Linked DNA regions of Homo sapiens: all the other regions are linked to region 5. Evidence: promoter capture Hi-C in 16 types of primary human blood cells and fetal thymus (Javierre and others, 2016). All regions are on one chromosome and are shown on one strand. The core of a region is centred on a gene start or on the middle of the fragment in contact, and the rest is flanking DNA. Distances in the headings are between cores, read along the strand shown.

The links. The method cuts DNA at HindIII sites, captures the fragments that hold promoters and counts their contacts. A CHiCAGO score of 5 or more calls a contact.
Region 1: a fragment that was not itself captured here is called in contact with the fragment with the promoter of TIMM10 in region 5 in 14 of 17 cell types (naive CD4 T cells, naive CD8 T cells, total CD4 T cells and 11 more); the score reaches 33.5 in naive CD4 T cells.
Region 2: a fragment that was not itself captured here is called in contact with the fragment with the promoter of TIMM10 in region 5 in 2 of 17 cell types (naive CD4 T cells and non-activated CD4 T cells); the score reaches 9.1 in naive CD4 T cells.
Region 3: a contact is called between a fragment that was not itself captured here and the fragment with the promoter of TIMM10 in region 5, in 6 of 17 cell types (activated CD4 T cells, naive CD8 T cells, naive CD4 T cells and 3 more). The highest score is 10.2, in activated CD4 T cells.
Region 4: a fragment that was not itself captured here is called in contact with the fragment with the promoter of TIMM10 in region 5 in 2 of 17 cell types (total CD4 T cells and activated CD4 T cells); the score reaches 6.1 in total CD4 T cells.
Region 6: a fragment that was not itself captured here is called in contact with the fragment with the promoter of TIMM10 in region 5 in 1 of 17 cell types (total CD8 T cells); the score reaches 5.7 in total CD8 T cells.
Region 7: a contact is called between a fragment that was not itself captured here and the fragment with the promoter of TIMM10 in region 5, in 3 of 17 cell types (erythroblasts, total CD8 T cells and naive CD8 T cells). The highest score is 9.6, in erythroblasts.

Annotation. Positions count from the first base shown.
Region 1 is chr11:58,572,427-58,575,623 of GRCh38, reverse strand. The region is part of intron 1 of LPXN (leupaxin); the gene reads left to right. Among named protein-coding and RNA genes, the nearest start is that of LPXN, 1.8 kb to the left of the region's middle. The HindIII fragment of the contact is 1,781 bases long and covers 419-2,199 here.
Region 2 is chr11:59,149,522-59,152,727 of GRCh38, reverse strand. FAM111A (FAM111 trypsin like peptidase A) reads right to left here. Exons shown (of 6, transcript NM_001312909.2): 6 at 1-978. Among named protein-coding and RNA genes, the nearest start is that of FAM111A, 8.3 kb to the right of the region's middle. RefSeq lists an enhancer at 16-145. The HindIII fragment of the contact is 2,300 bases long and covers 453-2,752 here.
Region 3 is chr11:58,640,394-58,643,772 of GRCh38, reverse strand. No RefSeq gene overlaps it. Among named protein-coding and RNA genes, the nearest start is that of CNTF, 19 kb to the right of the region's middle. The HindIII fragment of the contact is 4,055 bases long and covers 1-3,379 here.
Region 4 is chr11:58,624,022-58,627,270 of GRCh38, reverse strand. It overlaps CNTF (ciliary neurotrophic factor), which reads right to left. Exons shown (of 2, transcript NM_000614.4): 2 at 1,538-3,237. The coding sequence ends at 2,749. It overlaps ZFP91-CNTF (ZFP91-CNTF readthrough (NMD candidate)), which reads right to left. Exons shown (of 13, transcript NR_024091.1): 13 at 1,538-3,237. Among named protein-coding and RNA genes, the nearest start is that of CNTF, 3.0 kb to the right of the region's middle. The HindIII fragment of the contact is 2,434 bases long and covers 685-3,118 here.
Region 5 is chr11:57,529,065-57,532,053 of GRCh38, reverse strand. TIMM10 (translocase of inner mitochondrial membrane 10) reads left to right here and starts at 1,300. Exons shown (of 3, transcript NM_012456.3): 1 at 1,300-1,396; 2 at 1,820-1,935. The coding sequence starts at 1,865. RefSeq lists an enhancer at 1,121-1,300. The HindIII fragment of the contact is 3,024 bases long and covers 1,127-2,989 here.
Region 6 is chr11:59,130,690-59,133,868 of GRCh38, reverse strand. No RefSeq gene overlaps it. Among named protein-coding and RNA genes, the nearest start is that of FAM111A-DT, 11 kb to the left of the region's middle. The HindIII fragment of the contact is 174 bases long and covers 1,695-1,868 here.
Region 7 is chr11:58,600,547-58,603,939 of GRCh38, reverse strand. All of the region lies in intron 2 of ZFP91 (ZFP91 zinc finger protein, atypical E3 ubiquitin ligase), which reads right to left. All of the region lies in intron 2 of ZFP91-CNTF (ZFP91-CNTF readthrough (NMD candidate)), which reads right to left. Among named protein-coding and RNA genes, the nearest start is that of CNTF, 20 kb to the left of the region's middle. The HindIII fragment of the contact is 3,643 bases long and covers 211-3,393 here.

The DNA.
Region 1 (3,197 bases), core at 60-2,559, 1.0 Mb before region 5:
CCTGCCAAGAGTGAAGCATGAGGAACTATGATTGTTTTGGGGAACTATGGGTTCACTGTTTGCAGTGGCAAAATAGATGGAGAGTTTGGTGCTAACCGCGGAATAAACTCTTGGCAAATACTTTTGGACTGGATTGTTACTGCAGTTGTTGTCTTGTTATGGGCGTTTTGCCCTTTGGAGGTCACTGGAGATCAAGGGTGGCCACATAGCGAGACAATGCAGAGATATGATTTGAGGAGGAAAAGAAAGAGCAAAAAGGGAATTGGGGTGTTATGAGGAAGAAAAGACGGACTAGAAGTATAAGAATGAGGGATCTGTAGAGGTTGGAAAAAGGCCAGAGTGGTTTCATTTGTTCCATGTTTTAGTATTAAATCAAGAAGGCATAGCACTCTAACTCTAGTGATTTTGTTGCTAAGCTTTTTATTCAGAAGAATTCTGAAGGAAGAGATTACTAGGGCCTGAAAATATGACACCTCCTTCCACTCTAAGACAATTAAAACCAGCAGTGGAACTATTAACCATATTAACCAGAGAAATCCTGGATTTCAAACCTTTGGAGTAATGTAAGGTTTGTCATTCTTGGGACTCATTCCATAGCCTTTGCCAACATCTGTTGCCAGCATCTTAACTAACACTGAGTCACTAAACTATACCCAATTTCCAAACTGTATTAATTCCACAGTGTCCTGGTTTGGGGTGTGTTTGGGGATAGGGTATGTCAAAAGTGCAAAAAACAACAACAAAAAATATCTTGCACATTGTTACATTGTCTTAAAAAAAATGGCGTGTGATTTCAAAGCTGGAGAAACAGAGGAAAAGTAAAGGGCAAATTACCAGGAGGCAAGAGATGTTAATGAAGAGAAAAAGGTAGTGTTTAATAAATATCAAACTGCTTTGGAGGTAAAGTCTATTTTGATATTGGGCCAGACTCTTTTTTGGACTTGGGGTAGAATTCTATTTCTTATCCTACGTGAGTGCTGGGAGAATGTGAATTTCTGCTTGAGTTCTAGTAGTGCTAGGGCCTTTTTTCTTTTTCTCTTTCTTTTTTTTGGGGGGGATGGAGGGGACACCGAAAGGCTTTCATGGCAAATAATTCAAAAGGAAACTAATACTTATTTAGTAAATCAAGCAAAAACTAGACATTTTTACATATGTTAATCATTTTAGTGTCTGCAGCAACCCTCTGAAATAGGTGTTATCCACTTCTTTTTCAGATGAGAAAACTAAGAAAAACAAAATAACTTTTTCAATGTCACTGTCGGGAACACCTGACACCAAAACTAAGCAACAAGGTGCTCTCCTATTTTAGAAGTTTATTGGTTCTGGTGTCTGTCCAATGAAGTAACCCAGATTTAACAGAAACTTATATTGTTTTGCATCTCCTGAGCAGGCTAAATGTTAGGTAAATCTTGTCTGGAAATACAGAAAGTACCAAGTAGCCTGGAAGCTAATATTTGTGCAGATTATCCAGTTGGCTACGTCTCCACAGGCTGTTGATGGCTACACTTCAACAGTTTCTTCAAATTGTCATCAGCCCAGTAACTACCCTTGAGACTTGGTGTGGATCTTTCTTCCTGCTGGCAGAGAAATGGCATCGAGGACAGGTTGGCTCAAGTGAGCAAATATTTCCTGTCTGCAGTGGTGCCTCAGAGGCTAGCAGCTTGTATACACCCAGAAGGTTTTACCTAAACCCTCATTACGTAGGCATTAGGCATGATAGATAAAGAGGAACCAGGAGCAGATTCTGCCTCCGAATGAAATCCATGCAACCCTCAGAGACTCCCAAGAGACCTCACTTTACTCCTTTCATGTTAATATTGATATTATTTCATCTCCACAGTAAAAGACTACAGAGAAGAATTATGGAGTCTTCAGTCTAGTCCCCACTTCCCCCGCCCCCACTCTCCAGGAATCCCATATTTGTCATACTGAAATTAGTCATCTTCAAATTACAAAATCTGGCAAAAGGCATAATAACCTCACAGTGTTGGTGATATGCACACTCATATGAAACAGGAAGAGAAAAGCCTATAACTCATGACCCAGAAAGAAGGGTTTTGATAACTTTGGTTAGCTGGTGCTTCTGAGGGCAACTTCCTACTCTTTGTGGTATGGTTTCTTCTCTCTTATAATCTTTATTGTAAATGGCTTTTTATTTTGAGCTCAGGAGGATCTTTGGCTTCTAGTTAGAGCAAAGCTTAGAAAATAGAAAAGAAAGGGGCTCTAGCATAATTGAAAGATGTAGAATAAAAATTCAAAATTCTCAAATTTGGTGTGGGGTCTGGCTAATAAAAATCTGAGGCAAAAAGTTTTCTTTCTTTTTCTACCTTAGTTTTCTTTTCTTTTTCTTTCTTTTCTTTTCTTTTTTTTTTTTTTTGAGACGGAGTTTTGCTCTTGTTGCCCAGGCTGGAGTGCAATGGCACGGTCTCGGCTCACCGCAACCTCTGCTTCCCAGGTTCAAGCGTTTCGCCTGCCTCAGCCTTCCTGAGTAGCTGGGATTGCAGACATGTGCCGCCATGCCTGGCTAATTTTGTGTTTTTAGTAGAGACGGGTTTTCTCCATGTTGGTCAGGCTGGTCTCGAACTCCCAACCTCAGGCGATCCGCCCGCCTCGGCCTCTCAAAGTGCTGGGATTTACAGGCATGAGCCACCATGCCCGGCCTATTTGTCCTTCTTTTTAAAAAACTTCTATTATAAAGAAATTTAAGTATGCAAAAGTAGAGAAAATAGTTTAATGAATTCTGATATACCCATCAACCAGTTGAAACAATCAGTTCTTCATCAGTCTTACTTCATATATATGCCCACCCATTCCTTTCACCCCTGTAATTATGTTAAAACAATTTCAGATGTCATTTTATCTGTAACTATTTTAACACTGACCTCTAAAATAAATATATATTTATACATATAACTGTAATGCCATTGCCATAACAACAGCCTTAATATTAATTCCTTAATATTGTAAAATACCATTATCACACCTAAAAACTTAACAGAATTAATTAATATTATTAAATATCATTATCACACCTAAAATAAACAGTACTTACTTGATATTATTTAATATCCAGTCAGTGTTCAATAGTCTTGATTGTTTCATTTTTACAGTAGATTTAATGATCCAAATAAAGTTCATACACTGAAATTTATTATAAGTCTCTCAACTTTTTAATGCCATAGGGTCCCACTCATCTC
Region 2 (3,206 bases), core at 353-2,852, 1.6 Mb before region 5:
GAGACGTACAAGAAGTTTCACTACTTTAATCGAAGAAGAATTTTTTGTTACTTTCCCAAACGTTGTTCTATGCAATTCAAATAATGTTTCCCCATTTTTTACTTTCATTTTTTTCTTGAAGTTTTCAATGATTTTTTCACTTTCTCTTTTCAAACTGGGGTACTGAGCCACGATTTGTTCTCTCAACACACAGGTGTTTCTTTTCTCTGACTCAGGATTCTGAGAAGCTGCTGCACTGGGGACCATTCTTTTCTCAACCTCAACCTGAAAGTATCTGCCTTCTAATTCATCAACTGGCTGGGTGCTTTCTAAAATGGTGTCATTGTTTTCAATGAGTTTCCAATCATCATTCTCCAGAAAGGAAAGAAATCTGCCATCCTTGCACAGTGCATCCTTGATGGTTTCTCCTTTGAAAGCATAAACACAGAGTTTGCGCCCCTTTTTGTGAAGCTTCCCACATTTAACAATCCTTCTTTTACACTTCCCAATTCCAATTGCATGAATGTAAAATTTGACACATTCAGTCGATGCTTTGTCCTGCCTGCCAAATATGTGGTTATCTTCCTTCTGCTTACTTTTACTTTGGGAAAATGTAATGACCACCTGGCCACCTTCAGGGAAACAACTGAGGGGCATTCCAAGGTTTATGTACTCTTTGATTCCTTCTGTGCCACGCACAAGCATTTCTTGGCCTTGGTGAGTTTCTATCTCTTTTCTGACAGCCTGGAGAGTGTTGAGAGCCATATATAAGCTACTATTCTCACTATGTGTGAGCTTAAGTTTCATATCTTGGTTTCTCCTGTGGTTTACCTTCAAGGTAACATATATTGTCCTATTTTGGGGCATGGTCTGGTCTTCTGGATTTTTCTTAGGTGAATGGAATCTTTGAGCCTGGGTATTAGTTGTGGCTCTTGGGTCTCCTCTAGACTCCATCCTCATTAGAGAAGTACTGCAATTATTCTGTTGCTCTTTAGAGACCTAAAAATAAATGTTAGATACTTTAAAACTCTGAATGCAACCCGAGTCTTTTGTTTCTCTTTTCAGGTATGCAATTCACAAAATTCCTATGAGAAACTGAGAACCAATCTAAAAGGGCCAGTGAATAATATTAAATCAGTGTTTGACATGGGATCCAAAATGAAAGCGGAGCTTCCTATAACCTCTGTCAGATAAACTCTTGGTACCACTACACTAGTGCATTCTTCTGAAAAATATGAGGGAAGAAAAAATTTTTTCCCAGGTGCCTCAAAAACAGAGATTCTTAAAAGTTCACTAGTGGCCGGGCATGGTGGCTCCCACCTGCAATTCCAGCACTTTGGGAGGCCAAGGCGGGTGGATCACCTGAGGTCAGGAGTTTGAGACCAGCATGATCAACATGGTGAAATCCCGTCTCTACTGAAAATACAAAAATTAGCTGGGTGTGGTGGCACATGCCTGTAATCTCAGCTACTTGGGAGGCTGAGGCTGGAGAAATGCTTGAACCTGGGAGGTGGAGGTTGCAGTGAGCGGAGATAGCACCATTGCACTCCAGCCTGGGCAACAAGAGTGAAACTCCATCTCAAAAAAAAAAAGTCCACTAGTATTTGAAATAGTTTTATTTCAGGACTTGTTTATTATCTTCAGCTATATAATTTTTATATTTCCTGAGGACAATAATGAATTACAGCAAAAAAAAATTGTTCTTGAAATACTGAATTCAGCGATAAGCTACCGCAATTTATTATAAGCATTACATATTAAACAAAATCATTATTTAACTAATCATTTGGTTATAATGTAGTTATTTGTAACAATAAATACTTTGATTTGCCCAGCATATATCATGAAAAGAACTCTATTTTCTCTATTACATCAACTAATCCCCAAAGTTTATAAAATAAGGAGGAACAAACATGACTTATCTATCCTTTTGATGGAGAAACTAAGGCACAGAAAGTTTTTCTTGTAGACGTCTTTTCTAGGGTCACATAATAACCAATAAATAAAGTGAGTATCAAAATTGCAATTCCCAGTCCAATTATATTTTCCACTGGACTAGTGTATACATTCTTTTTTGTAAACTTTATATTTATGATTGCCATTTTTGTAGCGCATTATCTTAAGAAACGGGGGTGGAGGTGGGGAGAGGAATTAAATAAAGAGGCTTAATCAAATAGTAGAAACTCAGTGAAAAATTAGAGTGTCTGTTTCCTATGTCTAAAAAACACATTTTTCCCAAGTCATATTCATCATGGCATGGGTACCAGCAGATATGGGTCCGTATGCCAGCAATGCCCCTTACTACTACTGGGAATAACAATGCTAGGAATATTGTAAAGATTAAGTGTAGCATCATTGTATGACAATGCCTAGCACAATGACTAGCACATAATATGTTAACATTTGTTTTCCTTCTTTATACTAATATTCCAGATCAAAAATAAATAAATAAAAGGGACTTAAGGTAATGCAGATTTACCCTGGGCTCACATATAAACTCTCAAAGAGCATCCCTTCAGCCTAATGCTGTCAGAAACATCTTTGTCATGCACCCTATTAGAGTACTATAATAAATTTCCTATTTATTAAAATGATTCTTGGGCAGATATAGACACTTCTGAAAGGGGAAGAGGAATAGGATATAGTAATTAGCTCTGTCATGGAATAGGATAGAGAAAAACATAACTAAGTTTGCCTTAGACTTTTTAGATACTTGGATATTCTAGTTTTCCAGAACCAGGACAAAACAAAACAAGTTGAGAAATTGTAAGCTTCATACTCAAATGTTTACCATTCCTCAACTTTTTTCTTGATAAATTCAAGGAGAATTTTAGACTCAGGGAAAGATACAATGGTTTGATATGATAACAGAGCCCAATCAGTAGAAAAAGGCCCAACTACATGTCATTAAACTTAACTCCAAGTCTTCACTTCATTCCTGCCTTAAGCAACAACTCACTTTCTCCCTCTTCTCCAATAAACAAATTGAAGATTTGTCAGAATCCTTCCTGACTTCCTAACAAGGTTATGGTAAGAACAAATATATTAAAAAAATTGTTTTATAAACTATATTCAAATGTAGGTTATAATTACAATTGAATAGATCAGCCACGTTTGGAATGGTATATGTTTTCATGCTATGAAATGGTATTAATTTTGGTTTATTACATAGTTTACTGTAACATATTGTATTGAAGTTTTTGTTGTTATTCAAGAAATATTACAAT
Region 3 (3,379 bases), core at 553-3,052, 1.1 Mb before region 5:
TCTAACTGTGCTACAAAATTTTCTAGGGACTGTCAAATGCCATTTCCGCAAATATCATCAATACAAACTGTTGATGAGATAGGGAAAACACCATTTCAGCAGAGATTTGGCAGTATCTCAGAAAGCAAGGTTAGAATTTATTGAGAATTTAAGTTTCATTTAAGCCACTTCCCTCCGTGGAGAGAGTGGGGAGGTCTTGATTTGAAAAGGGCAAAAATCACAACATGGAAGTTTAAGATTGGTGGGAAAAGCAAGGCAAGGCAAGAGATTCAAAGGTAAAAACTGTTGATACTTTTCATTGAAGAGTTGATGGATATTTTGGGAAATTCCTATAATGAATAATCGAGCCATTTTTCCATGTAACGGTCACTGGAATGGTAAAGTTATGCTAGTGAAGACAGTGTTATAGTAATGTCACGTTGATGTAGAAGCTCTGTAGGGCGTAGATAGTTTTAGTTCTCAGAACTCGTCTTCTAAAGTTCCATACATTGAAACCCAAAACCTCTATTTTTAACAGGCTTAATTGGGAGCCAATGCTATAAACAACGAGCCACTGCAGGTTTTTGTCTCAGAGTTTGCCATGATCCCAGCTGTCCTTCAGGAGATGGGAATACTTGTTGGAAGGTTGCAGAAATTACCTAGAGAACATATAACGATGGTATGAATTATGAGTCTCGAGGACATGGTTAATTTAGTGATGCTAGTCATGGCTTTTCTCTGTCTCTGTCTCTGTCTCTCCCTGCTAGTTCTCTGCATCTCTTTCATGAGTCTGGGTCTTCTCCACGCTAAATACTGAGAGTATATATATCCATTGTCAAGTGAGGCAGACCCATGAGAAATCCTTAAGAAAAAGTATCTCAAGAAAGACAGGAAGACTGCAGGAAGCAAGGGATTGCCAGGTGCCTAGTAGTTTCTTTAAACCTACAAGTTTATTGTTCAGGTGATCTTCTCCTGTGTATGTTGGGGTAGAGATGAGGTGCACAAGGAGAGAATAGAAGTTATTTGGAGATTTAACTCAGAATTGCCCTCAGATTGAATCGAGGATGAGAAAGGTCTCAAGACCCTATATGGGATTGAGAACTAAAATTTAAACCTTAAGCACCCACCCCAACCAATTGAACAGACTCTCTCTTGGCCAAGGAGACCTCAGAGAAACCTTAAAAATGGAGTTCCTGGCCATAAGGAGACAAGAGATCACACAAGCCTCGTTATATCCTCTCCCTTTTGTATACAGACACACCAACTGACCAGCATGAATGTTAAAATAGAGATCATATGACTGACAGAACAGACTCTTTGTGGCAGTAAGATATCCAATTATAAACAGGACCTACGCCCATGTCAGGCAAAGGTTAAGTCACGCACCCCTACACTTAAAGAATAAACTTTGTTTTAACTGCCACAAGGTTTTTCTTTCTTAAGCAGCTCAACAAGCACTGGCCTCAAGGAAAGCAATATTAAAATAACTGCAGCTCATTCACCACCATGTGCTGACTAACCGACCTCCTGTTCCACAAGCCATAACTACAGCTTTGATTAGACAAGAAAGAGATTTCAGTAACTTTCCTGGTAAAAGACCACCGACTATGGACTGGTTCTGGTCGGTTTTATAGAGGCTTTGCACTTGAGAACATTTATGTCCCTGTTTTATCTTCTGAAATATAGACAGCCTCATTGTAATAAATTTAAATGTTAAGTACCCTCTCCAATATGAACATAGATCATTTGTAGCATGCATGTTTATTCAGTATGCATGCATCAGAAACCACTTGGTGAATATTCATAGCTTCTCCTGTAACCTGTTGAATATGTATATTTAGCCAACCTATGTAGCATAAAGCTCCTGCCTCAACCCCTCCTTCTTCAAAGTACTGCCTTTCGGTCTCTGTTGAAGGTACACTTCTCAGCCTGTCAGGATGACCATTGGCAGGCTATAACCCTTTATGAGAAATAAAGTCCTGTGTCCAAATCTGCATAGATCTCATGATTTTTCTGTTGGCAAAATTCAGGATCCCTGGGCTACCCCTGACATTAAATTATAAGCCCACTAGACTAAAAGTCCCTCAGACCCCTCAGCCTATCTGTCCCTTAATTAGTATAATCATGGTTAAGTTACTTTTTGTGCCTCTCCTCCTCACATTCACAGATGTTTACAGGAAAAAAAAAAAAAAAGTCAAGGAGATTAAGTCACTTGCCCAGGGTCTGAGAGCCACTAAGCGCAGAGCCATATCTCGAGTCCAGTTCTGTTGAACTCCAATAAACATCTCCTTTCTATTTCCTTCATTTTCTATTATTGCCTCTTCTCCTTTCACAGGGCTCTGATTGTAAAAATATATAGGCAGATAACACTGCAGTTGATAACATTACACTTCTATTGAAAGAAGTTTTTCTTCCTTTGCGATATTATTTCAGATCACTTTGCATCCTCATTTATTCATTCATGGATTCCTTCCCAGCCATCCGTGGAGAGATATGTAGGGTGTGAAATGAGACTCCTACATGCAGGGCCAATATTTAGCCAGTAACCTCAGGAAGGTCATTTGCAGCCAATGTTAGTTCTGATTGGCTGGGGCTGCAACTTGCAGAGTAGTAAATATTTTGACTATTGCCCTTGACTATCTGCCAGAATAATTGTCTGCATTTGTATCCCCTATGGTGCTCAATTAGAATGCACACAGCCCAAGAGAGTGAGGCAGGGTAGGAGGCGGTCTGAGTCTGGAAATACAGGCAAGAGACACAGGGTCAGGGCCATCTCTGCTCCAATCTGTCTTTGTGTGACCTTGTGCACATCACTTCTTTTCTCTGGGAATCAGCTTCTCCATAGGCAAAAGTATATATGGCCTGGCACTATTATATTTTTGTAAAAGAAAGTAGTATGTGCCTATGTGCCTGGGTCCATGTGTGCACACATAGAAACATGTCTGGAAGGTGACACACCTCCTATTTACAGTGGTTATCTCTGGGAAGCACAGCTGGATGAAGAAGGTATTTTTTACCTTATATAACCTCTTTACACTTTTAATTTTCCATAACAAGCATGTGTTGTAATTTTTTTAAGTTAACAGCTAAAAAGTCCTGTTTGTTCCTGTTTTACAGGAAGTCACACTTCTTTTCTAAGGTCACATGAGGACTTGGCATCTGACTCTGAAGACTGTCTTGCCTGCATCGTCCTTACACTGCCTCTGAACAATTGGGGGATGTGAGTACTGGGCACCAAATGATGCCTCCTAATCTCCCAGCTCAGCAAATGCTGCCCAGGGCTGAAAACAAAACATCCTCAGAGAGTTTTCCTTGCCCTCCTCCTGTTGGTATCTTGTCCTTGTCAGCAAATGATTCACCACCATTCAGCCAAAGCATGATTATTTTCACTTGTATCTAC
Region 4 (3,249 bases), core at 652-3,151, 1.1 Mb before region 5:
TACACATTCAGATCTCATACATGTTGATTTTTGTTGCATGGTCTACTGCTCATTTCCCCTTTATCTTTTTCTAAGATTAGCTTTCCCCACACTTCTTTTGGGTGCATATTGTATGCTTCCTGAAAGACAAGTACACAGCGTTTTGCAAAGTGCTGACAATGCACTTGGTAAAGACTTGGTGATTCTGTGACTTAATTGTGACTTACACATTTTTCTATCTCCTCCCATTCAGTGGTTAGTACTTGTGCCTTTTGTGGACCCTCTGCCACTTCAAATCCGCCTCTTATACATACATATTCCTTTACATGCAACTCATGAGAGCTTAAGCCAAGCTCCACTGAGTTCTGAAACTTCTGCAGATGTCTGCTGCTGTACCTGCTGAACATAAAAACACTTGGAGAGGGGACACTCATTTTTTAAAAACATTTTTGATGGAGGGAGTATGGGGGCAACATCTTTTAATTTTTTATTTAAAAAATTTCAAAAATTTATTTTTACATGTATAATTGATGGGGTCATTTTAGATGCAGCAAATTCATAGTCAGTTATTCCCCATTAAGAAATTGTAGACATATTTCTCCATTGAACAGAAGTATTATCCAGATAGCTCTAAGAGCTTCATATTAATAAGCAGAAATTTTATTATTTGAGAATGCTGCTGTTAAGCAGAATTAAGAGAAAGCTTGAATGGAATAAGACTATACATTCAGTGCCAAAATTACAAATGATCACCTCTTCCCTTCTCTCATGACTTCTCTTTTGTACTCAACCAGTACAGAGTATTTTGTAGTTTTGTACTGAGACACAACTCCTACCTCCTCCGGGAAACTACTTTGGGCCCCTCTCCTTCCTTTAGCTTCCTAACAAACCTGGGACTTATAATTTCGACTATGTGTGTGTGTGTGTGTGTGTGTGTGTGTTTGTGTGTTTACAGAATCTCTGGTATCTCCAGTGAGAACAGAGTAGGCCTCACCCTCTCCTCATGACTAAGTCCAGAGAATGTGAGGTGAAGGAGTTCTGTGACTTTTTAACTTGAGTAGTATTCCACTCACTGTCCACAAAGGCTTGGGTTACACTGTCTGCATCACTGATCACAGTAATGTACGTGTGTGTGTATACACACTCACAACCATATTGCCACAAATGCATATTAGAAAGCAGGGCCTTACTTTCCCTGAACTGTTACAATGCCTAGCCCAGAGTACTCTGGTAATAGTGACTTCATGGAGTTTTGTACACACACCCATGTGAGAAAGGATACAAGCTAAGCTACTCATCCACACCTCATGAAACCTATGGGAGTTAGCCCTGACTCATGGTTCATTTACGAATACAGAAGCCCCAGTTAATTAAATTAACTTGGTCTCCCAATCCATGATCTTGAGTTTTAATTGATAAGTATAAAATAAATGACACACTTGAAAATTTCTGGATTCACATCACACCACCAGTACATGGCCTTTTCCATTAATGTCCGCATTGACCAACCTTTCATACTATGTTGGTTCTTACAAGAAATAAAAGCAGAGCCTGCCCCTTTGTTGTGCAGCACAGAGGCTTTATTCTATAGTTTCAGAGTCTCTGGTATCTCCAGTAGGAACAGAGTGGGCCTCACCCTCTCCTCATGACTAAGTCCAGAAAATCTGAGGTGAAAGTTTGACTTTTTAACTTTAGTATTCCACTCATTGTCCACAAATGCTTGGGTTACACTGCCTGCATCACTAATTAAAAGTGAGGTAACCTGGTATAAGCCGTGCCCAACCCAATATTTGAGAACTTTTAGTGAGTACTTAAAAACCAGGCTGTATTACTAAACATCCCCAGCTTCCAAAGTTCAGAAGTTTGGCGGGCCTAATCATTTTCCAAAATGGAATCTTAAGATCTCCAGCTGCCCTCCTCACCGCCAAGTATGAACAATAAATCCTGACTTTAACGCTAAAATTTGCAACTGACTTCTGAGGACATCTAACAGCAGCTGTTTTCCAGCGATGGGAATAGATTACATGGATGCATCTTCCAACACCCTGTGACAAAGAGGTGCAGTGATTCATGATCAAGCCTCTAAAGTGAAAGGCACATAGGCTTTTACAAGGAGAATGATCTGTGTTCAAACTCAGTGTGCTACTTGTTAGCTGTGTGAGCTTAACCAAATCTCTGTGAGCCTGTTTTCTCATCTACCTAATGGGAGTAACACCACCTTGCTCACAAGGTTGTAAACGCTGTACATAATATACATAAAGACCCTTGGCATACTGCCTTAATATAGAAGATAATAAAAGTTAGCCATTATTATTCTTATTCTCTAAGAGTTTAAATCAACTAAAGAGTCTGATTTTAAATTGAATCTTCTCAGACCGAGTCATCCAGGACTAGAATTAACATATGTATATTCTGTCTGTAAGGCAGTTAAATGCCTGTAGAGGTTACTTAGTGGGTTAGAAAGGTTAGAACCCTGAAGTGGAAGGACGTTGTCCCTGCTCCCACTCTCTTACACCTGCAGCACATGCAAGCACGCACACAAATCACACCCCCCAGGCTAAACTTGTATGCCCATTTGTGTATGTCTCCAACGCTACTTGATGAAAATACCTGTAGTCCTTCAACAGGCTGCAGGTGGTCAGAGAAAAAAGAAAGAAAATGCCTGTTGTCTTAACTGTTTTTAGAAATTTAAGATGGGAAAGCGAGGCCCCAGGGAACTACGCATATTCCATTAGAAGAGAAAGCAAGGAAGAGAGAAGGGACTAACTGCTACATTTTCTTGTTGTTAGCAATATAATGGCTCCCACGTGCTGGGATCCCAGTCTGATGAGAAGAAATGAAACGAAGGTCATGGATGGACCTTACTGTCCACTGTGAAAGCTCCTGCAGCACCTTTAGGCCCCACAGCTTCTTCTCAAAGAGACCACCATCTCCAACATTAATAGGCATCCCATCAGCCTCATTGCGGGGGATCTTGTATTCCAGGAGTATCATTAACTCCTCTATCTGGTATGCAAAGGCAGCGACTTGGAGAAGAAGGGTATGTATAGCTTGATGGAAGTCACCTTCGGTTGGGGTAAAATGCACCTGCTGGTCTTCTAAGAGCCTGGCCAACAAAACATGGAAGGTACGATAAGCTTGAAGGTTCTCTTGGAGTCGCTCTGCCTCGGTCAGCTCACTCCACTGATCAGTGCTTGCCACTGGCATCCCATCCGCAGAGTCCAGGTTGATGTTCTTGTTCAGGCCCTGATGCTTCACCTGGCCGAGGAT
Region 5 (2,989 bases), core at 51-2,550:
GGAAAACTAATTGATGGTGATAGAGGTCAGAATAGTGGTTAACTTCGAGAGGGGGTATTGATGGGGAAGGAACACAAGATAACTTTTTGGGGTGCAGGAAGTATTTTATATCTTGATCTGGATGGCGGTTATACAAATGTACATATATAGATACATATATATTTAATTAAGCTTAACATTCGTGTATTTTATGCACTTTATGAATGTTATACCCCAATCTTTAAAAATCAGGGCACAAGTTTGGCAAAGATGAGTCTTCAAAGCAGTAGAAAGGTCAATTGTTTAAAATTAGGATGGTCTTGGACAATTAGGGAAGCTTATGATGACCACACAGAAAATGTCTAGCCCACCTTTTCCAATGGGCAATGTGCCCTTGCGTCATTAATTTACATCTTGTAAATTTATTTTACCAGGAAATTGTGTGACAAATCAAGGGACTGAGTATTGTTTCCTTGTTTCCTTCTTTTTAGTGGGGAATGAGTGAATGGTGCAGTTTGAAGAACACATTAAGTCTTGAAAGTTGGAAAGTTCACCAGTACCCTTCTTTCCCTCACCCAAGATTAGCCCTGGTGGCAGCCGAAATTGCTTTTATTATCTCTTTGTGGCTGAGGACCTCTAACTGTTGAAGAAAACATATTTTACACGTCTTGTCTTTCTGCGAACAGGAAGCCTATCTCGCTTATCTTTGCAACCCCAGACGGGGCTTAGTGTGACCTACACACAGCAGTAATCGCACAACGTCCCGTGGAGCACTGCTTCTCAAATTTGGCTGTACATACGAATCACCTGGGGAATTTTAAATTGTATTGCTGCCTGAGGAATTTTAAACTGTACTCCCAGAGATTCTGATTTAATTGAAATGAGGTGAGTCCTGGGCACTGGGATGTTTAAAAACGTTCCAGGTGATTTTAACGCGAAACAAAAACAGAACCGCTGTTTGGGGGCGTTCTTCCTTCTCCACGCCTGATTTGCGCACAGGAGTCGGCTGTCTGGAACGGGGGTGAGGTTCACAGGTGTCTGTCGCCACGCCTCTTCCTACAGAACCAATAAACTGAAGCCGCTCGGTGACATCCCAAAGGACTTGAATTCTGATCGGGCTGCAGACGCTCTGCACCCCGCCCAAGCTTCTATGGTACTTTGGTGTCCTCTCTAGCACTGGCAAGTCGCCTTCCTCTTCGCCCGGCGCCAGCCGCTCCCTCTCTATGATCGCCGAGTTCCCGGCGCCGTCTCGTTGGTATTTAATTCCGGAAGCGAGTTTGAATCAAAGAAGAGGCGGGACTTTCCTCCCGGAAGTAACCCACGTGCTTCCGCTGGAGCCTCTCGGGAGGCGGGTAACGTTATAGTATTTGTCAGAAGTTGGGGTCTCCGTGGGCATTGTGATCCGTCCCAGGCAGTGGTAAGTGACACATGACCTCTGAATTCAATGTGGCCCTGATGATGGCGTCGCCATTTCAGAGGTGTAGCCTTTGGGCTGGGTCCCGGTCGCCTCTGTTCAGCGTATGATCCCATTCCCAGGGCCCTGGAGGTTCAGGTTCGTGGGTTAGAGAGTTCTCCTCCGGTCCTCGATCTCCTGAATAGAGGTGACCTCCAGGAACTGGGGCATCAGAGATCCGGGGCTCGATTTCCAGGCTCGCCATAGACGTCCTGTGCGACCTTGGGCTAGGCCTCAGTTTCCACATCCGTGAAATGGGGTGGTTAAGCTCACTGAGGTTAGTGGCCCGTGGTGGTCTGGCGCCCTGTGAGTCCTCTGTATCCTCTAGCCCCAGGGGTAGGAGAGTGAACGGCGGCGGTGGGTGCTGATGGTGATGTCTGCTCCCAGGATTAGGAGGCCAGAAGGAGATCCCTTCCACGGTGCTAGGCTGAGATGGATCCTCTCAGGGCCCAACAGCTGGCTGCGGAGCTGGAGGTGGAGATGATGGCCGATATGTACAACAGGTAAAGAGAACTATGTGCTACCCTGTCTTGGAAAATAAGTCTTGGTCACCCTTATCGAAGGTGAATGACTTATGACAAATTCCTTCCTGAATGTAGGGGAGCCTGAGGCCCATGCTTACCCTCCCCACACCCACCTTCAAGGTTGATCCTAATGTAGATGCAGTAAAGGGTCACTAGAATGAGTTGGGCATTTAGATGGGGATGGAACTGGCAATGCAGGAGCCAAGCAGGAAGAGAAACTCCAATCCAGGCTCTGGTTAGGTTCCAAGAAAAGCTGAGTATTTGCCTCTTGACAAATAGCACATAGCCAGCCCATTTAGTAGTTAACATTTTAAAACCCTTTATTCTGTGTCAGGCACTTGTTAATCTTCAAAATAATCCAGTGGGTTAATTTTATTAGTCCCGTCTTAAAATGAGGAAATTGATGATTCTAGAGGTTAAGTAACTTCCTTAGGGTCGGCAGCTGGTCAGTAACAATGCCAGAACTAGCACCTCAGTCTGATTCTGCAACTAGTGCTCATAACCATTTGGCAAATTTGGGAACAAATCCTGGCTCCACCAATCACCAGCAGTATAATTGGACATGTTACTTGCACTGTTTGACAATTGGTTTCCTCATTATGAAGAAGACATAATGATACCTACCTCATAGGACATCATAAATATTAAATCTAAAAATATATGAAAGCCCTTAGCCTCAAGCCCAACACTTAGTGAAATGTCTGCTATTTTTATTGGCTTAAGCTCTCTTGATTGGTTGGTTTATCCTGAAGGCTATAAATTAGAAGGATTTTTAAGTGTAGACTGTGAGGTCAGATGACCTGGCTTCATAACCCAGCTCTGTGTGATCCTTAGAAAATTACTGAGCCTCTGTTTGCCTTAATTTCCTCATCTGTAAAATGGGGATACATGTCTCTTAGGGTTATTGTAAGCATTGCATAACAGAATGCAGGTAAAGCACTTAGCAGGATGCCTGGCATGTAGCCAGTCCTCAACAAATGGTTTCTACTTAGTTAGTCATATACATGGACTTAGACAAGTTTCCTACTTGCAA
Region 6 (3,179 bases), core at 532-3,031, 1.6 Mb before region 5:
AAGCAGCTGGGTGGGAGTCACTTGTAGTCCTAGATTACATTAACCTAATTTAGATTGAGGTGATTTCAAATTGACTTGTGTCCCTGTGAAGGCTGAGATATTTCTGGAACATTTTTATTCCTTGGGTACAACAACTTTTTACCCATCCAAAATCCTGTGGTGTTTATTAGGTTTCCTACTAGCTGACAGGCTTTAAACTCTGACTTTTTCCTCCCTCAGCTTCACGATTCGAACTCAAATGTCTGGTCAGCTACTCAGCCATCTCTTCCAAGCTGTCAGGTTTCCCTAAGGTAAGAGCCATACTGATATGGTTTGGCTCTGTGTCCCCACCCAAATCTCATCTTGAATTTTAATCCCAATAACCCCCAAGTGTCAAGGGGGGAATCTGGTGGGAGGTGATTGGATCATGGGGACAGTTTTGCCCATGCTGTTCTCATGATAGTGAGTTCTCATAAGATATGATGGTTTTATAAGGGGCTATTCCCACTACACTTTTATCTCTCCTGCCACCCTGTGAAGAAGGACATATTTTCTTCCCCTAATTCCATGATTGTAAGTTTCCTGAGGCCCCCCAGCCATGTGGAACTGTGAGTGAATTAAACCTCTTTCCTTTATAAATTACCCAGTTTTGGGTATTTCTTTGTAGCAGTGTAAAAACAGATTAATACAGGAAATTGGTACCAGGAGTTTGGGGCACTGCCACAAAGATACTTAAAAATGTGGAAACCACTTCGGAACTGGGTAACAGGAAGAAGTTGGGACAGTTTGGAGGGCTCAGAAGACAGGAAGATGTGGGAAAGTGTGGAACTTCCTAGAGACTTGCTGAATGGTTTTGACCAAGATGCTGAGAGTGATATGGACAACGAAGTACAGGCTGAGGTGTTCTTATATGGAGATGAGGAACTTATTTGAAACTGGAGCAAATGTCACTCTTGCTATGCTTTAGCAAAGAGACTGGAGGCATTTTACCCCTGACCTAGAGATCGGTGGAACTTTGAACTTTTATTAGTCCATTTTCATACTGCTATGAAGAAGTACCTGAGATTGAGTAATTTATAAAGAAAAAGAGGTTTAATGTACTCACAGTTCCACATGGCAGAGGAGGCCTCACAATCATGGTGGAAGGTGAAGGAGGAGGAAAGCCGTGTCTTACATGATGGCAGTCAACAGAGCATGTGCAGGGGAACTGCCCTTTATAAAACCATCAGGTCTTGTGAGACTTATTCACTATCACAAGAACAGCACAGGAAAAACCCACCCCCATGATTCAATTACCTCCCACTGGGTCCCTCCCAGGACATATGGGGATTATGGGAGCTACAATTCAAGATGAGATTTGGGTGGGGACAGAGCCACACCATATAATTCCACCCCTGGTCCCTCCCAAATCTCATGTCCTTACAATTCGAAACACAATCATCCCCTTCCAACCGTCTCCCAAAGTCTTAACTAATTGCAGCATTAATACAAAAGTCCAAATCCAGAGTCTCATCTGAGACAAGGCAAGTCCCTTCCACCTATGAGCCTGTAAAATCAAAAGCAAGTCAGTTACTTCCTAGATATAATGGGGGTAGAGGCTTTGGGTAAATATACCCATTCCAAATGGGATAAATTGCCAAAACAAAAGGGCCACAGCCCCCATGCAAGTCCAAAATCCAGCAGGGCAGTCAAATCTTAAAGCTCCAAAATAAGCTTTGACTATATGCCTCACATCCAGGTCACACTGATGCAAGAGGTGGGTTCCCATGGTCCTGGGCAGCTCTGCCCCTGTGGCTTTGCAGGGTACAGCCCACTCCCCCTTCCCCGGCTGCTTTCATGAGCTGGCATGAAAATGGACATTGGGCAAACTCACAGTCTGGCATGAAGCTTTTCCAGGAGCATGGTGCAAGCTGTTGGTGGATTTACCATTCTGGCGTTTGGAGGATGGTGGCCCTCTTCTCACAGCTACACTAGGCAGTGTCTCGGGGGGACTCTCTGTGGGGGCTACCACCTCACATTTCCCTTCTGCACTGCCCTAGCAGAGGTTCTCCATGAGGGCTCCACCCCTGCAGCAAACTTCTGCCTGGATATCCAGGCGTTTCCATACATCCTGTGAAATCTAGGTGGAGGTTCCCAAACCTCAATTCTTTACTTCTGTTCACCTGCAGGCCCAACACCATGTGTAAGGCACCAAGGCTTGGGGCTTGCACCCTCTGAGTCAATGGCCTGAGCTATATCTTGGCCCCTTTTAGCCACAGCTGGGACACAGGGCACCAAGTTCTAAGACTGCACAAAGCAGCAAGACCTGGGGTTTAGCCCATGAAACCACTTTTTCCTTCTAGGCCTCTGGGCCTGTGATGGGAGGGGCTGTCATGCAGACCTCTGGCATGCTCTGGAGACATTTTCCCCATTGTCTTGGTGATTAACATTTGGCTCCTTGTTACTTATGCAGATTTCTGCAGCTGGCTTAAATTTACCCTCAGAAAATGAGGTTTTATCTTCTATCACATCGACGGGCTGCAAATTTTCTGAACTTTTATGATCTGCTTCCCTTTTAAACATAAGTTCCAATTCCAAATGATATCTTTGTGAATGACTAAAACTGAATGCTTTTAAGAGTACCCAAGTCACATCTTGAATGCTTTGGTGCTTAGAAATTTCTTCTTCCAGATACCCTAAATCATCTCTCTCAAGTTCAAAGTTCCACAGATCTCTAGGGTGGGGCAAAATGCCACCAGCCTCTTTGCTAAAGCATAGCAAGAATGACCTTTGCCCCAGTGCCCAAGTTCCTCATCTCTGTCTGAGACCATGTCAGCCTGGAATTTATTGTCGGTATCACTATCACATTTTGGGCAAAGGCATTCGACAAGTCTCTATGAAGTTCCAAACTTTCCCACATTTTCCTGTCTTCTTCTGAGCCCCCTAACCTTTTCCAACCTCTGCCTGTTACCCAGTTCCAAAGTTGCTTCCACATTTTCAGGTATGTTTACAGCAGCACCCCACTCTCTGTGATACCAATTTACTGTATTAGTCCATTTTCATACTACTATGAAGAAATACCTGAGACTGGGTAATTTATAAAGAAAAAGGGGTTTAATGGACTCAGAGTTCTACATGGGTGGGGAGGACTCACAATCATGGTGGAAGATGAAAGAGGAGCAAAGGCACATCTTACATGGCAGCAGGCAAGAGGGAGCATG
Region 7 (3,393 bases), core at 783-3,282, 1.1 Mb before region 5:
TTATGAATGAGACTGGGGGTATGGTCCACTCTAGAGCAAAATTCTTCTCCATCTGTGGAGCTGATTCCAAAAAACAATGGTGGGACACTTATAGATTACACATCTCCATATCAAAAGGAAGAAAATAGAAGGGGGGAAAAAGGGTCAGGGGTCCCAAGTTAGTCCAAAACCTAGCGAAAAGCATTAGACTTTAAGCCCTAAGAATAAGCTTTTGTGGATAATGGTTTGTACTCTGAGTCCACTGGGGAAATAGCCCTGCCATCGTGGCCCCAGGAAGTCTAATACACCCAGGACCCAGCATTTGCAGCTCTACCCTCAGCATCATTCTTCTTTAATTCCATTCTGTCTCTGTCCCATTCAGGCCAGCCTGGCAGTGTTTCTGCTGTCACAACATTCTCAAAAACTTTGTCAGTCTTTCATGAAATTCAGGGGGTCGAAGCCACCAAATGAGAGTCCTCCACAGATCTTTCCTGAAAAATTGCATGTCTATTCTGGGAAGTGCTGAGATGGCTGATTCGATCCACAAGTTATATACCAAGTCTCTTTAGAGAATAGCTGTCCAGTCACAGCCTTGGTCCTGTACCACAATACACTATTTGGACAGACTAAAAAATTTTCAAATTATCAAGTGCTGGCTCCTTTTTGCTAAACAATTCATTCCTCAATTTATATCTTTCCTCTCACACATTAGTATATAAGCAAGAAGAAACAAGGCTATACCTTCTACACGTTGTTTGTAAATCTACTCAGATAAATATCCAAGTTCATTGCTTACCCAATGATAGAACACAATTCAGTCAAGTTCTCTGCAACTTTATAACAAGGATCACCTTTTCTCCACTGTCCAATAACATGTTCATCATTTCCTTCTAAGGCCTCATCAGACTGCCTTTAACACTCATATTTCTGTTGACCATCTCTTCAAGGCAATCTACGCTGTTTTTTCTTTTCTTTTTTTTTGAGACAGAGTTTCACTCTTGTTGCCCAGGCTGGAGTGCAACGGCGCAATCTTGGCTCACCGCAATCATCGCCTCCTAGGTTCAAGCAATTCTCCTGCCTCAGCCTCCCGAGTATAGCTGGGATTAGAGGCATGCACCATACCTCAAAATACTCAAAGCCAATATCCATTACCCAATCCCAAAGCTATGCCAACATTTTTAGGTACTTTTTCATAGCCCACTTCCAATACCAAAATGTATTAGTTTCCTAGGGCTGCCATAACAAATTACCACAAAAGCCTATTTACTACAAAGCCCCTATTTCTCAATGTTCCATTCACAGGTACCTGAGTTAAGACTTCAACATCTTTTGAGGAAAGCAATTCAACTCGTAAAGGTGGCCCTACTAATATCAGGCAAAATGCACTTCAACAACTGTTACAAAACACAAAGAACATTATACGTTAATGAGAGGGTCAATCAATCTAGAAAATATAATAAATATAAACCTATACATAGCTAACACAGGCCCCCTCTCCCTCTCCCCCCATCTCTCTCTCGAGATATATCAACATATAACATACATAGCAAAGATTTACAGAACTGAAGAGAAACAGGTAATACCACAATCACAAAAATGGAGACATCTGTATCCCACTTTCAATAACAGAACCAAACACCAGTCAGAAGTTTGATAAGGAAATACAGAACTCAAGCAAAATTAAAAAATTAGACATATTAGACAAAATTAGACATAATGTTAAAAAACAGACATATTGGGCCAGGCGCAGTGGCTCACACCTGTAATCCCAACACTTTGGGAGGCTGAGGCAGGCAGATCACCTGAGGTCAGGAGTTTGAGATCAGCCTGGCCAACATGGCGAAACCCTGTCTCTACTAAGAATACAAAAATTAGCCGGGCATGGTGGCGTGTGTCTGTAGTCCCAGCTACTCGAGGACGCTGAGGCAGGAGAACTGCTTGAACCCAGGAGGTGGAGGTTGCATTGAGCCAAGATCACACCACTGCACTCCAGCCTGGGCGATAGAACGAGACTCCATCTTGGGGGAAAAAAAAAATTCACAGACATATTGAAAAGTCTCAATAAATTTCAAATGGCTGCAGTCATATAAAGTACGTTCTCTCTGACCACAATTGAATGAAACTAGAAATCAATATCAGAAGGAAAACTAGAAAACTCACAAATACATGAAAATTAACACACTGTTAAACCAATGGATCAAAGAATAAATCACAAGGAAAATTACAAAATACTTAGAGATGACTGAAAATGAAAACAAAATATCCCAAAACCTAGGGGATGCAGTGAAAGCAGTTCTCAGAGTAAAATTTCTAGATATAAATGCCTACATTAAAATAGAAAAAAAAAAAAATCACATGCCTGAATCAATAACCTAACATCATACCCATAAGAGCTAGGAAAAAAGGAGCAGAGTAAACCCAAAGCTAGCAGAATAAAGTAAATAAGTTGGTTCTTTGACAAGATAACAAAATCAACAAACTTTTGGTTAATAAGAGAAGACCCAAATTACTAAAACCAGAAATGAAAATGGGACACTACCACTGAAATAAACATAAGAAAACACAATGAACAACTGTTTGCCAACAAATAACATAGATGAAATCAACAACTTCTTAGGCACACACAAATTACCAAAAACAATTCAACAAGAAATGGAAAAGATGAACATATCTTTAACAAGTAGACAACTGAGTCAGTAAACAAAAAGCTCCCAATAAAAAGGCCAGAAGCCTCTAGATGGTTTCATTGGTTGATTCTACCACACATTTAAAGAATTAACTCCAGTCTTCCTCAAACTCTCTTAAAAAATAGAAGATGGAACACTTCCCAACACATCCTATAAACACAGCATTATTCTGACACCAAAGCCAGACAAAGACACCACAAAAAACCATAAGCCAATATCCCTTGCAAACCAAATATAGCATCATATTAAGAAGATTAAACACTATAATCAATTGAGACAGGTCCCAGGATTATGAGGGTGGTTCGATATACAAAAACATATGTAATATCCCACATTAATAAAGAGAGGAAAAAACACACCATTATCTCAATTGATGTAGAAAAAAGAAAAAGAACCTGACAAAATTAAACTTTCATGATAAGAACACACAAAAAACTGGGAATAGAATTGAACTTCCTCAACTTGACAAAGAACACCTTTAAAAACCCCAGAGCTCACATCATACGCAGTGGTAAAAGACAAAGCTCTCCTGCTAAGGTCAGGAACAAGACAAGGATGCCCTCATTCTTCACTTCCATTCAACACTGTACTGGAAGTTCTAGCCAAGTAATTACTCAAGTAAAAAAAGAGGCACCCAAAGTGAAAAGGAAGAAGTAAAACTGTATCTCTATTTGCAGGTGAAAAGACCTTACATATAGAAAATTCTAAAGAATTTTCACAAAAGAAA